4 separate regions of the Homo sapiens genome follow, and all the other regions are linked to region 1. The links are contacts of gene promoters, found by promoter capture Hi-C in human tissues and cell types (Jung and others, 2019). All regions are on one chromosome and are shown on one strand. The core of a region is centred on a gene start or on the middle of the fragment in contact, and the rest is flanking DNA. Distances in the headings are between cores, read along the strand shown. Region 1 holds the start of MIF (macrophage migration inhibitory factor). Region 2 holds the start of LOC124900476 (endogenous retrovirus group K member 5 Gag polyprotein-like). Region 3 has its middle 15 kb from the start of PCAT14. Region 4 overlaps LOC105372957 (a long non-coding RNA gene).

What was found. The method cuts DNA at HindIII sites, captures the fragments that hold promoters and counts their contacts. A contact is called where the count stands out against the background at its distance.
Region 2: a fragment that was not itself captured here is called in contact with the fragment with the promoter of MIF in region 1 in 4 of the 25 tissues and cell types used here (bladder, dorsolateral prefrontal cortex, mesenchymal stem cells and 1 more).
Region 3: a contact is called between a fragment that was not itself captured here and the fragment with the promoter of MIF in region 1, in 1 of the 25 tissues and cell types used here (spleen).
Region 4: a fragment that was not itself captured here is called in contact with the fragment with the promoter of MIF in region 1 in 1 of the 25 tissues and cell types used here (lymphoblastoid cells).

The regions. Positions count from the first base shown.
Region 1 is chr22:23,892,667-23,896,001 of GRCh38, forward strand. MIF (macrophage migration inhibitory factor) reads left to right here and starts at 1,717. Exons shown (of 3, transcript NM_002415.2): 1 at 1,717-1,916; 2 at 2,106-2,278; 3 at 2,374-2,557. The coding sequence starts at 1,809. The coding sequence ends at 2,440. It overlaps MIF-AS1 (MIF antisense RNA 1), which reads right to left. Exons shown (of 3, transcript NR_038911.1): 2 at 3,163-3,335; 3 at 1,044-2,866. RefSeq lists enhancers at 1,392-2,199, 2,200-3,007. The HindIII fragment of the contact is 32,419 bases long and covers 1-3,335 here.
Region 2 is chr22:23,534,375-23,537,709 of GRCh38, forward strand. It overlaps LOC124900476 (endogenous retrovirus group K member 5 Gag polyprotein-like), which reads left to right and starts at 2,507. Exons shown (of 2, transcript XM_047441690.1): 1 at 2,507-2,762. RefSeq lists enhancers at 229-844, 845-1,461, 2,077-2,693. The HindIII fragment of the contact is 4,075 bases long and covers 1-3,335 here.
Region 3 is chr22:23,551,775-23,555,109 of GRCh38, forward strand. No RefSeq gene overlaps it. Among named protein-coding and RNA genes, the nearest start is that of PCAT14, 15 kb to the left of the region's middle. The HindIII fragment of the contact is 7,531 bases long and covers 1-3,335 here.
Region 4 is chr22:23,569,210-23,572,544 of GRCh38, forward strand. The region is part of intron 2 of LOC105372957 (a long non-coding RNA gene); the gene reads left to right. Among named protein-coding and RNA genes, the nearest start is that of IGLL1, 9.4 kb to the right of the region's middle. The HindIII fragment of the contact is 9,559 bases long and covers 1-3,335 here.

The sequences.
Region 1 (3,335 bases), core at 467-2,966:
GGGGAACTTAGAATGGTGGTGTTTGTTCAAGATGGCAATGCTCCTGCTCCGTCACTGGCCAGGTAAGGCAACCCTTTGTTATGGTAACAACCTGAGATTGGCAGGGGCTCACCTCCAGGGGCAGCTCATGTGCTTGCTGGCGAGGCTGCACCTTGTCATTCAGGTTCACAGGGCACAGGTCAACCAGGCCCTGGCTCTTCAGTCTTCTGCCTGGAGTGACTTATGTAATTCTGCTCAGCTTTCATAGGGCACAGGGAGTCGGGGCTAACTCTGCTGCCTGGGGCTGGAAACAGACTCCTCCCTTGAGGAGCAGCAGTCCACCATAGGGAAGTCACAGTGGTCCAGGCCAAAGGGGATGCAGGTAGTGTAGACTAGGCGGTAGTTCAGGGAATGGAGAGAAGTGGGAATAAAGGGATAGTGAAAGGAAGCATATTTTACTGGCAGGTGATGAGGTGTAGGAGGACAAGTCATACATTTGGACTTTACAGAGCAGTGGACACTCAGTCAGCTGCTGTCAGCGCCTGGGACTTAGGGGAGTGCCCCTGGCTGGAGACATGGTATGGAGTGCCATCAGTTAGGGAGCCCTGGGCACAGGTAAGAGAAGGTGTGACACCAGGAGGGAAAGAGTCTGGGGCCCAGCTGCAGGAACCAATACCCATAGGCTATTTGTATAAATGGGCCATGGGGCCTCCCAGCTGGAGGCTGGCTGGTGCCACGAGGGTCCCACAGGCATGGGTGTCCTTCCTATATCACATGGCCTTCACTGAGACTGGTATATGGATTGCACCTATCAGAGACCAAGGACAGGACCTCCCTGGAAATCTCTGAGGACCTGGCCTGTGATCCAGTTGCTGCCTTGTCCTCTTCCTGCTATGTCATGGCTTATCTTCTTTCACCCATTCATTCATTCATTCATTCAGCAGTATTAGTCAATGTCTCTTGTATGCCTGGCACCTGCTAGATGGTCCCCGAGTTTACCATTAGTGGAAAAGACATTTAAGAAATTCACCAAGGGCTCTATGAGAGGCCATACACGGTGGACCTGACTAGGGTGTGGCTTCCCTGAGGAGCTGAAGTTGCCCAGAGGCCCAGAGAAGGGGAGCTGAGCACGTTTGAACCACTGAACCTGCTCTGGACCTCGCCTCCTTCCCTTCGGTGCCTCCCAGCATCCTATCCTCTTTAAAGAGCAGGGGTTCAGGGAAGTTCCCTGGATGGTGATTCGCAGGGGCAGCTCCCCTCTCACCTGCCGCGATGACTACCCCGCCCCATCTCAAACACACAAGCTCACGCATGCGGGACTGGAGCCCTTGAGGACATGTGGCCCAAAGACAGGAGGTACAGGGGCTCAGTGCGTGCAGTGGAATGAACTGGGCTTCATCTCTGGAAGGGTAAGGGGCCATCTTCCGGGTTCACCGCCGCATCCCCACCCCCGGCACAGCGCCTCCTGGCGACTAACATCGGTGACTTAGTGAAAGGACTAAGAAAGACCCGAGGCGAGGCCGGAACAGGCCGATTTCTAGCCGCCAAGTGGAGAACAGGTTGGAGCGGTGCGCCGGGCTTAGCGGCGGTTGCTGGAGGAACGGGCGGAGTCGCCCAGGGTCCTGCCCTGCGGGGGTCGAGCCGAGGCAGGCGGTGACTTCCCCACTCGGGGCGGAGCCGCAGCCTCGCGGGGGCGGGGCCTGGCGCCGGCGGTGGCGTCACAAAAGGCGGGACCACAGTGGTGTCCGAGAAGTCAGGCACGTAGCTCAGCGGCGGCCGCGGCGCGTGCGTCTGTGCCTCTGCGCGGGTCTCCTGGTCCTTCTGCCATCATGCCGATGTTCATCGTAAACACCAACGTGCCCCGCGCCTCCGTGCCGGACGGGTTCCTCTCCGAGCTCACCCAGCAGCTGGCGCAGGCCACCGGCAAGCCCCCCCAGGTTTGCCGGGAGGGGACAGGAAGAGGGGGGTGCCCACCGGACGAGGGGTTCCGCGCTGGGAGCTGGGGAGGCGACTCCTGAACGGAGCTGGGGGGCGGGGCGGGGGGAGGACGGTGGCTCGGGCCCGAAGTGGACGTTCGGGGCCCGACGAGGTCGCTGGGGCGGGCTGACCGCGCCCTTTCCTCGCAGTACATCGCGGTGCACGTGGTCCCGGACCAGCTCATGGCCTTCGGCGGCTCCAGCGAGCCGTGCGCGCTCTGCAGCCTGCACAGCATCGGCAAGATCGGCGGCGCGCAGAACCGCTCCTACAGCAAGCTGCTGTGCGGCCTGCTGGCCGAGCGCCTGCGCATCAGCCCGGACAGGTACGCGGAGTCGCGGAGGGGCGGGGGAGGGGCGGCGGCGCGCGGCCAGGCCCGGGACTGAGCCACCCGCTGAGTCCGGCCTCCTCCCCCCGCAGGGTCTACATCAACTATTACGACATGAACGCGGCCAATGTGGGCTGGAACAACTCCACCTTCGCCTAAGAGCCGCAGGGACCCACGCTGTCTGCGCTGGCTCCACCCGGGAACCCGCCGCACGCTGTGTTCTAGGCCCGCCCACCCCAACCTTCTGGTGGGGAGAAATAAACGGTTTAGAGACTAGGAGTGCCTCGGGGTTCCTTGGCTTGCGGGAGGAATTGGTGCAGAGCCGGGATATTGGGGAGCGAGGTCGGGAACGGTGTTGGGGGCGGGGGTCAGGGCCGGGTTGCTCTCCTCCGAACCTGCTGTTCGGGAGCCCTTTTGTCCAGCCTGTCCCTCCTACGCTCCTAACAGAGGAGCCCCAGTGTCTTTCCATTCTATGGCGTACGAAGGGATGAGGAGAAGTTGGCACTCTGCCCTGGGCTGCAGACTCGGGATCTAAGGCGCTCTGCCCGCCGGAATCCGTTGTACCTAGGGCCACCACGTGGGGTGCTGGAGGTGAGCCGACCACGGAAGAGGGGGAGGAGGAGTTGGAGTTGGGAGGAGTCCGAGGTCTTCTAGGCCTAGACCTTTCTCTCAGCCCCACCTTCCCCAGCCTTCTTGTTGGGCAGAGGGTAGCCAGAGGACAGAAAGATCCCACCCAGAGCCACTCACTGCCATCCACTTTGTTAGGTGACTTCAGGAGAGTTTTCAGGCGGGTGGGTGGGGGAGGTGCAGAGTTCTTGGTCATACCGCCCCGTCCACCCCCGAACCCCACGCCTTGGGTTCTGCTCCCCTCAGACACCCACCAAGCCTCCGCCACAGCAGTTCCCTGAGGAAATTGGGCGTGGGGTTTCCATTGGGACCGTTCGTGTTCTGTGGTGCCACAGACATGTCTGTAAAACCTTCAGTTATGTTTGGGCGCAGTGGCACAAGCCTGTGATCCCGGCACTTTGGGAGGTGGAGGTGAGTGGAGTGTGAC
Region 2 (3,335 bases), core at 331-2,830, 360 kb before region 1:
CACGTCACTGGAAGGGTGGGCCTAGGCTGGGGCCTGGCTCCTTGGAGAAGACCCACCAGTGATCTAGCAGGGCCCAGAGCCAGGGCTGGGCCTGGACATTCCAAGTCAATTCAGGACTCAGAGCACCCCAGAGGGGAAGGGACCTGGGTTGTCCCCTGGAGTCACTAGCATCTGCGGCGAAACTCCCCCCGCCCCCACTGGTCTGCCCTGGATCCTAAGGGTAGAGGGACAGCGTGGCGGGAAGTAGCCCACTCCACCTGGGCAGGAACAAACCCACAGCCACCCGAGGAAGAGAGAATGCTGGCAGGATAGTCATGGAGCGGGGGCTCAGGAAGGCCTCTTTGAGGAGACAGTCTTAACACCTGAGAGCTGAGAAGAATTCAGCCTCACAAAACCCAGAGACGTGGCCCTCAAGAGGGAGATGGGGCTGGGAGACATGGTGGAGTGGCCAGGCCGGGAGTGGCTGCAGGGTTTGAGCCTGGGCCCAGCAGGTCTGGCAGGTCACCCCAGGGGTCTCCTGCTTGCTCCTGAGCCAGTGTCTGTGAGAGCTGGGTGGCAAGGCCAGCGGGAGGCTGAGGGACCCAGGGCCCGGGCATGTGGGAAGCGAGGGCGGCCTCTCCTTGGTTCCTCGGCAGCCTGGACCCTCACCCCCTGCAAGGTCCTGGTGGCCACCGCTTGCAGGGCCGTCCCTCTGGGAGTGGGCAGGGGGGCTGGGGGACACTGGGAAGACCTTCACCCCTCCGAAGGCAAGGCCTGGTCACGTTCATCCTCCATCCCTTTCCCGCCTGGACTCCTCCTGTGTGCTGGGAGCACTTGGCCGTGTGAGAACAGGGCAGCATGGTGGACGGGCCAGCATGGCACGGCGAGGTCTGAGCCCCTGGCTACTCTCCCCAGCCCTGAGAACTCAGGCTGCTCCGTAAGCTCTGTGGGCCTCAGGCTCCTGGTCGCTAGAATGGAGCCACAGGCAGGCTACCCAGAAGTGAGATGCCTGCCAAAAAGCCGTGTGCCCAGCCCAGAGCCAAGACTTGGTCCATCGAGCCCCAGCTCAAAAGCCCTATGAGAGGCCGGCCCTGAGCACCGTCCCTGTCCCTGTGTGCCACTTCAGTCACAATTCAGCAGCTCGCAGCCGCCCACTGAGGCTGAGCCTCTGTTCAAATTTGCCTCGATGTTTGCTGGTCACTGATTCAGGTCTTCGGGCCTCAGCTTCCTTACCCACAAACTGGGGGCGGCCTCTGGGGGCTGTTGTAAGGGGAGCTGGAGGCCACAGGCTCTGGCCTGGAGCACTTCGCTCTCCACCACTGTCTTCTCCTGACGTCTGTGTTTCCTCGTATCTCATGGTACCGCGTCTCCTCCGCAGGACCTGTGTGTCCTGTGTGACGCTGTGTGCCACCCACCACATCTTCAGCCCCTGAGAAAGATTCTGGTGGTGGAGGCTGTTGAGTAAATGCTCACTTGAGCTTCTCCCACTACCTTGGAGCCCCTCTTCTATTTGTCTCCAAATTCTCTTTGCTGACAGAGTGCACAGTTCAAAACCCCACACTGGGATGAACTAGAGGACGCCCAGGTCCAGCTCAGGAGCAGCTTCATGTCCCCTCCACTGCTGTACCTCTAGGGCCTCCCTCTGCCACTGCCATCTACTAGGACATTCTTCCTGGGCCCCTGTGGGACAAGGACTGCCTTTGGCTAGTGTGGGGAAAAGAAAGAGAGATCAGACTGTTACTGTGTCTATGTAGAAAGAAATAGACATAAGAGACTCCATTTTGTTCTGTACTAAGAAAAATTCTTCTGCTTTGAGATGCTGTTAATCTGTAACCCTAGCCCCAACCCTGTGCTCACAGAAACAGGTGCTGTGTTGACTCAAGGTTTAATGGATTCAGGGCTGTGCAGGATGTGCTTTGTTAAACAAATGCTTGAAGGCAGCAAGCTTGTTAAGAGTCATCACCACTCCCTAATCTCAAGTAAGCAGGGACACAAACACTGCGGAAGGCCGCAGGGACCTCTGCCTAGGAAAGCCAGGTGTTGTCCAAGGTTTCTCCCCATGTGACAGTCTGAAATATGGCCTCTTGGGAAGGGAAAGACCTGACTGTCCCCTGGCCCGACACCCGTAAAGGGTCTGTGCTGAGGATTAGTAAAAGAGGAAGGAAGGCCTCTTTGCAGTTGAGATAAGAGGAAGGCATCTGTCTCCTGCTCATCCCTGGGCAATGGAATGTCTTGGTGTAAAGCCTGATTGTATATGCCATCTACTGAGATAGGAGAAAACTGCCTTAGGGCTGGAGGTGGGACATGCTGGCGGCAATACTGCTCTTTAAGGCATTGAGATGTTTATGTATATGCACATCAAAAGCACAGCACTTTTTTCTTTACCTTGTTTATGATGCAGAGACATTTGTTCACATGTTTTCCTGCTGGCCCTCTCCCCACTATTACCCTATTGTCCTGCCACATCCCCCTCTCCGAGATGGTAGAGATAATGATCAATAAATACTGAGGGAACTCAGAGACCGGTGCGGCGCGGGTCCTCCATATGCTGAGCGCCGGTCCCCTGGGCCCACTTTTCTTTCTCTATACTTTGTCTCTGTTGTCTTTCTTTTCTCAAGTCTCTCGTTCCACCTGAGGAGAAATGCCCACAGCTGTGGAGGCGCAGGCCACTCCATCTGGTGCCCAACGTGGATGCTTTTCTCTAGGGTGAAGGGACTCTCGAGTGTGGTCATTGAGGACAAGTCAACGAGAGATTCCCGAGTACGTCTACAGTGAGCCTTGTGGTAAGCTTGGGCGCTCGGAAGAAGCCAGGGTTAATGGGGCAAACTAAAAGTAAAGTCTCTCATTCCACCTGATGAGAAACACCCAGAGGTGTGGAGGGGCAGGCCACCCCTTCAGGGTAGGGTCCCCTCCATGCAGACCATAGAGCACAGGTGTGCCCCAAAGAGGAGCAGAGAGAAGGAGGGAGAGGGCCCACGAGAGACTTGGAAATGAATGGCAGGATTTTAGGCGCTGGACTTGGGTTCGGGGCACCTGGCCTTTCCTTGTGTATTTCTCCTACTGTCTGCCTAACTATTTAATACAATAAAAGAAAACCAGCCCCTGGTTCTTGTGGTGTTTCCACCCTCCCGGGTCCCCGCTGGCTGCCTGGCTTCCTCCCGCAGCTCCTGCTGTGTGTGTATGTGTGTGTGTGTGCACATCTGTGGGGCGTATGTGTGTTCGTCTTTGTAATTGAGGCTGCAGAGTGGAGAGAGCAGGGGTTTTCTCTGGGGACCCAGAGAGAAGGAGGCGTTTTCACCACAGCCGAACAGGGCAGGACCCCAGCACCCGGGACCCAGCGGGACTTTGCCAAGGGG
Region 3 (3,335 bases), core at 354-2,853, 340 kb before region 1:
TTTCCTTCCATCCTCCATCCATTCTCCCATCCTTTTGTCGATCCTCCCATGCATCCTCCCATCCATCTTTCATTTCATCCTTCAACCACCCTCCCATTCATCCTCTACTCATCTTTTCATCCATCCTCCCAGCCATTCTCCATCCATCTTTCATCCATCCTCCATCCATCTTCCATTCATCCACCCATCCACCCTCCCATCAATCCTCCCATCTTTCTTTCCATTCATCTTTCCTCTATTTCTCTGTCCACCCTCTATCCATCCTCCCATCCACCCTACCGTCTATCTTCCATCCATTCTCCATTTATCTTCCCATCCATTCTCCCTCCATCTTATTCTTCATTCATCCTCCCATCCATCTTTTTCATCCATCCTCCCATTCATTCCTCTGTCTATCCTCTCCTGCATCTTCCCATCCATTTTCCCATCTATCCTTCATTCATCCCGTCATCCATCCTCTTATTCATCTTTACATCCATCCTCCCATCCATCTTTTCATCCATCCTCCCATTCATTCCTCTGTCTATCCTCCCATGCATTCTACCATCCATTTTCTCATCTATCCTTCATTCATCCTGTCATCCATCCTCCCATCCATCTTTCCATCCATCCACCCATCCATCCTTCATTCATCCTCCCATTCATTTTTCCATCCATCCTCCCATTCATCCATTCTCCCTCTATCCTCCCATCCATCCTTTCATCCATCCTTTCGTCAATTTTCTCATCAATGCTCCCATCCATCTTTCCATTTATCTTCCATCCATTCCTCTGTCCACCCTCTCATCCATTCTCCCATCAATCTTCCATTCATTCTCCATCCATCCTCTCTTCTACCTCCCTCCACCTTCCCATCTATCCTCCATCTATCCTCCCATCCATCCTCCCATCCATCTTTCCATCCATTCTCCTATCCATTCTTCTGTCCATCCTCCCATGCATCCTCCCATCCATTTTCCCATCTATCCTTCATCTTTCCTCCCACCCATCCTCCCATCCATCTTTCTATCCATCCACCCATTCATCTTTCATTCATCCTTGCATCCATTTTTCCATCCATCCTTCAGCCATCTTCCCATCCATCTTCTCATCAATCCTCTCATCCATCTTTCCATCCATTCTCCCCCATCCTCCCATCCATCCTTTCATCCATCCTCCCATCCACCCTTGCAACAATTTTTCCATCCATCCTCCCATCCACCTTCCCATCAATCTCCCTTCAGTCTCCATTCATTCTCCTCTATTCCTTGTTCATTCTCTTATCCTCCCATGCCCCAAGCCCTCACTCAGGCTTTGTCATGCCTCTAAGCCTTAATATAGGCTGTTCTCTCAGCCAGGCCTGCTTTTTCTCCTCTTTGTTGGCCCAGGGACTCACACCTGTGTGGGACCTGCCCTGATACACTCCACACCCTCTCCTCCTGCACCTGGCCCTGCCTCTGCAGTACCAACTTCTCAGTGTCCACCTCAGTGCCAGCCACAGATGGGGAGTTCTGGTGGCCTTGCTGGCCCATGACCTCATTGGGGCCTGCTCTCTTGTGGCTCACCCCAAAGCAGAGGGAGTAGAGCCACCTCAGGGACACACACGGTGGGCTGCGCCTTGGGAGAACACAACTAATTTTAACAATGGCCTTAGGGAAGAGACAAATCTGTCCCTTTATTCCCTCCTTAGAGAAAAATCTGTGTGTGCATGTGTATATGCACACATGATTCAGAGCATCAAACGCTGCTGTGACTCGGGTGTCACCAGCCTCATTTGCCCAGTGCTAGAGGGGACAAACACACGACCTCCAGCCACAGGATAGTAGCTCTACATGCTGACTCTTGGCAAGCAGGGCCTGGTGTTTGTCCAGACGCCCAAACCCCTGGGGATGTCCTCACCTGGTTATGTGGTGCCCAGCAGTGTTTCAGTGAACCTTAACCAACCTTGGAGGGCTGCTGGGCAGAGTGGGAGAGCAAGTGTCTGGCTCCTGGTGAGTGGGTGCCCTTGTGCCAGCTAATGACCCCCATGGCCTTCAGCTGCTTTCCTGTCGACTGGGGAGGGGGTGCTCCCAGGCTGCTGTGAGGAGGTGGCCAGAAGAGCGGGAACAGTCCTATGTGTTTCCTTCTCTCCAGAGAGCCTGACCAGGGCTGATGAATTAGGGTGCATGGCCCAATTCACTGTCCATGGATCCACCTTGGATTTGGGGTCCCTGTGGGGATGTGAAGCTTCGGAAACTCCTCTGTCCCCCCACCTTCCTTTTCCCTTCCAAGACAGGATCTGGACTCTTGAAATTCTGCACACTAATAAAATTGTAACTAATTTACATCCAAGATGCGGAGTGAGTGGCAGCGGTTGTCATGGAGACCATCTCCAGGGCCCCGCTGCCTTCGCCTTTCGGTGCAGCCGAGAGTTCAAGAGATTCTCGCCGAGTGCTGCAGCTGGGGCCAGTCCTCATGCCTCCCGGGCACCCTGCCCTGCTCCCCCCATGCTGGGCAGGCCCTTGGGGGATGGAATGGAGGCAGCCCCCCTTGGAAAGGCCCCAAGTTCTGCCGATGGTGTTCTGAAGGTCAAAGTCCCTCTCTCCTGACTGTACATCTGCCCCCAGCACTGCCCATTCACCCTGTGGGCCCCACTGGCTCCGTTCACTCCAGATGGAAGCCCCCTCGAGGGACATGAGGCCCTATCCCCACAGCACAGCCAGCAAAGGCACTCAGAGTGGGGACAGTTTCCAGGGAAGGGGCAGAGCAGCAGAGCCCAAGCCACCCACAGACCTGTCCACCTGGGGTCCACCCTGGGAAATGCCCCACCCTGGACTCCATGAATCCCAAGATGGAGAAAATGCCCTCCGTGGCCTCACAGAGCTTGCCTGCCCACAGGAAAGACGTTGAAATAACCAGTACTGGCCAGGTGCGGTGGCTCATGCCTGTAATCCTAACATCTAGGGAGGCTGAGATGGGCGGGTCACTTGAGGTCAGGAGTTTGAGACCACCATGGCCAACATGGTGAAAACCGGTCTCTACTAAAAATACAAAAATTAGCCGAGGCATGGTGACTCGCGCCTGTAGTCCCAGCTATTTGGGAGGCTGAGGCAGGAGAATTGCTTGAACCCAGGAGACGGAGGTTGCAGTGAGCTGAGATCATGCCACTGCACCCCAACCGGGGCAACAGAGTGAGACTCCGTATCAAAAAAAAAAAGAAAAAGAAAAAAACGAACCAGTGCTGTGACTCTACGCCACACACTGTGCTGAACCCTTCGCATGTGAGATCTTGTCTCAATGTCAAGGCAACACAATGCGGTGGGCAATACTTTAAGCCCCCATTTCATCACGAACAAAAAGGTTGTAGACAGGTGGGT
Region 4 (3,335 bases), core at 518-3,017, 320 kb before region 1:
GTAGTGCCCGTCGGGAGAAACTTTCAGATCCTGGATAGATCCGGGATGTGGGGTAGGGACTAAGGTGCTCAGAGTCCCCTTGTCCTGCCCGTCAGTTAGTGGCTTTGGCCACCAGCCATCTCAGAAAGGATGTTGGTCAGAGAAGCAGCTGCCCCAGAAGGCCATGCGGGGTGACCTTGGCCTCCTCGATGTTCCCTGGGCCAGCACAGGCACAGAACGAGCCTCCTTTTGTAAAGAGACGTGCACTCACTGGGTCAGCAGTGAGGCAGGGAGGACAGCCTCACAGCTACGAGCACGGGTTTTTTAAGGCTGGTCACCAACCCAGCTCTGCTGCCTGCTAGCACTGGGCCCCTGGGCAAGCTGCCTCCTCCCCTGAGCCTCAGCCTTCCCATCTGTAAAATGGGCATAGTGGCAATTCGGTAGACCCACTGTGCTAGATCCTGTGCTGAGCCCTCTCTGTATCTGCACACTGAGCCCTGTGAGCAGCATCCCCCTCTTCTATAACCCTCGTGCTTCTAGTCCTCGCCTCAGAGTCCAGCCACGGCAGCAGTTCTGCGCCGCCTGACAGATCTCCATGCCTCCACTGCATCCAGAATGCAGCTCTGAATGCCCCATCTGGAGATGTGGGATCCTGCCCACCCAGGCCCCAGACCAAGGGACACAGTTTATGGCGAGGGAGGATCCCAGTGAGCACATGAGCGTGATGCCCACCAGTCTCACCCTGGAGCCTGGGCCTGATGGAACGTAGGGGCAGCCAGCTTGTGCTACACCCCGAGCACAGAGCCAACAGCCAGTGCCAGGTGCTGCATCCCCAGAAGCTGGAACACATGGTCCAGGGACAAGTTGTAGAAATAGGATTGCCCGGCCAGGCATGGTGGCTCATGCCTGTAATCCCAGCACTTTGGGAGGCTGAGGTGGGCAGATCACGAGGTCAGGAGATGAGACCATCTTGGCTAACACGGTGAAACCCTGTCTCTACTAAAAATACAAAAAATTAGCCGGGCGTGGTGGCGGGTGCCTGTAGTCCCAGCTACTTGGGAGGCTGAGGCAGGAGAATGGCGTGAACCCAGGAGGCGGAGCTTGCAGTGAGCCGAGATAGCACCACTGCAGTCCGGCCTGGGTGACAGAGCAAGACTCTGTCTCAAAAAAAAAAAAAAAAAAATAGGATTGCCCACTCCCCCACCCACCATGCCCCAGTGTCCTTGTGGATTTGTGCTTCTTGTCCCTGCAACTTTAGGGTTGTCAGATGAGAGGCCCCAGCTATCTGGGACAGGGGAGAGGGGAGAGGGGGCAGGGGAGAAGGGAAGTACAGGAGGGCTCCACTGGACACAGCGTGGATCTCATTGAACTCAAACCTGTGACTACATCTGTTACACTGGGGTCTTTCTGCCAAGGACCAGGACTAACATGTAAAGAAAGGGGTTTCCACTCAGGGTGGGTTCTAAGCTCTTCTCGGTCACCTTCTAGCATGAAGTCTTTGCAGGTACTGCAGATGCCAGCACCTCAAAGGGGCCTCTGATGGGTGGACCCAGTTGGTGGCAGGGGCGGGGCTGAATGCTGCCAGGTGGGCACTGTGTTGAGCAGCTCGCCTGAATGGCTTCAGACCTCTTGGCTTCACCTCCTAATCCAGGCCCAGGTGCAGTAAACAGACCTCGCAGGCTGTGACAAGCTCCATGTGGCAGAAAGCTGACAATGGCCTGCCCTAGGCCCCTGTGCTTGCCTCTCGCTTCCAGTCCGGGGCTTTGCTGATGCCACAGTGTGGGATCCCCCAACCTCCACCCCTCCACAGTAACCCACTCAGCAGTTACACACGCTCAACTGCAAGTGCAAAGGCATGAACACCCTACAGGCCAGCGTTTCCTCAAAGGCGGCAGAGCCCTGGAAGCAATGCTCTCTCCTTTCTTCCCCTTGGCGGATGGTTCTGAGATGCATTTTGTAAGGCAGCTCCGGTGATCCTGCGGGATCTGGCACCCCGGCTTCCATAATGGTGAACTCAGCAATGTACGTTTGCATTGGCTTTTTTTTTTTTTTTTTTTTTTTTTGAGACAGTCTTGCTCTGTCACCCAGGCTGGAGCGCAGTGGTGTGATCTCGGCTCACTGAAACCTCCATCTCCCAGATTCAAGTGATTCTCCTGCCTCAGCCTCCCAAGTAGCTGGGATTACAGGCACCCGCCACCACACCCGTCTAATTTTTGTATTTTTAGTAGAGACGGGATTTCGCCATGTTGGCCAGGCTGGTAATTTTTGTATCTTTAGTAGAGACGGGGTTTTGCCACGTTAGCCAGGCTGGTCTCTTAACTCCTGATCCAAGTGATCCACCTACCTCGGCCTCCCAAAGTGCTGGGATTACAGGCGGAACCACTGTGCCTGGCCTTTGCATTGGTTTTCTTGCTGCTCCTGTTTTGCTCTCCCCCTCCCCATCCCTCAGTCTTGCCTCTGGGAGTACTCGTCCCAAACAAGCTCCAAGTACAACAGCCTTTCTTTGAGGCCTGCTTGCAGGGAGCCCAAGCCAAAACAGATGTTACAGGCTGGATTGTGCTCCTCCAAATTCATACATTGAAGTCCTAACCCCAGTTCGTCAGTATGTGTCTGTATTTGGAGATAGGGTACTATGGTCTGAATGCTTGCATCCCACCAAAATTCAGGTTGCAACCTAATCTCCAATGTGATGGTATTATGAGGTGGTGGCATTGGAGAGGTGAGAGGCTCTGCCCTTACTAATAAGATTAATGTCTGTATCAGTCCATTCTTGAATTTCTGTGAAGAAACCCTGAGACCAGGTAATTTATAAAGAAAAGAGGTTTGATTGGCTCACGGGTCTGCAGGCTGTACAGGAAGCATGCTGGCATCTGCTCAGCTTCTGGGGAGGCCTCAGGAAGCTTCCAATAATGACGGAAGGTGAAGGGGGAACAGGTGTCTCACACGGCCAGAGCGGGAGCAAGAGAGAGTTGACAGGGAGGTGCCACACACTTTTAAACAACCAGATCCCACGAGAACCCACTCAGTATCAGGAAGATGGCACCAAGTCATGAGGGATCCACCACCAACCAAACACCTCCTACCAGGCCCCATCTCCAACTCTGGGGAGGCTGAGGCAGGAGAATCGGTTGAACCTGGCAGGCGGAAGTTACGGTGAGCCGAGATTGCACCATTGCACTCCAGCCTGTGCAACAGAGCCAGACTCCGTCTCAAAACAACAATAACAACAACAACAACAACAACAAAAAAAAAAAAACAGAAAAAAGAAAGAAATGATGGAGCACCTATTACCCTTCTTGCACTGGTTCCTGGGGAGCTCAGAGCCTATTTTTTGAAAGTGTCCTGATCCTCTTGCA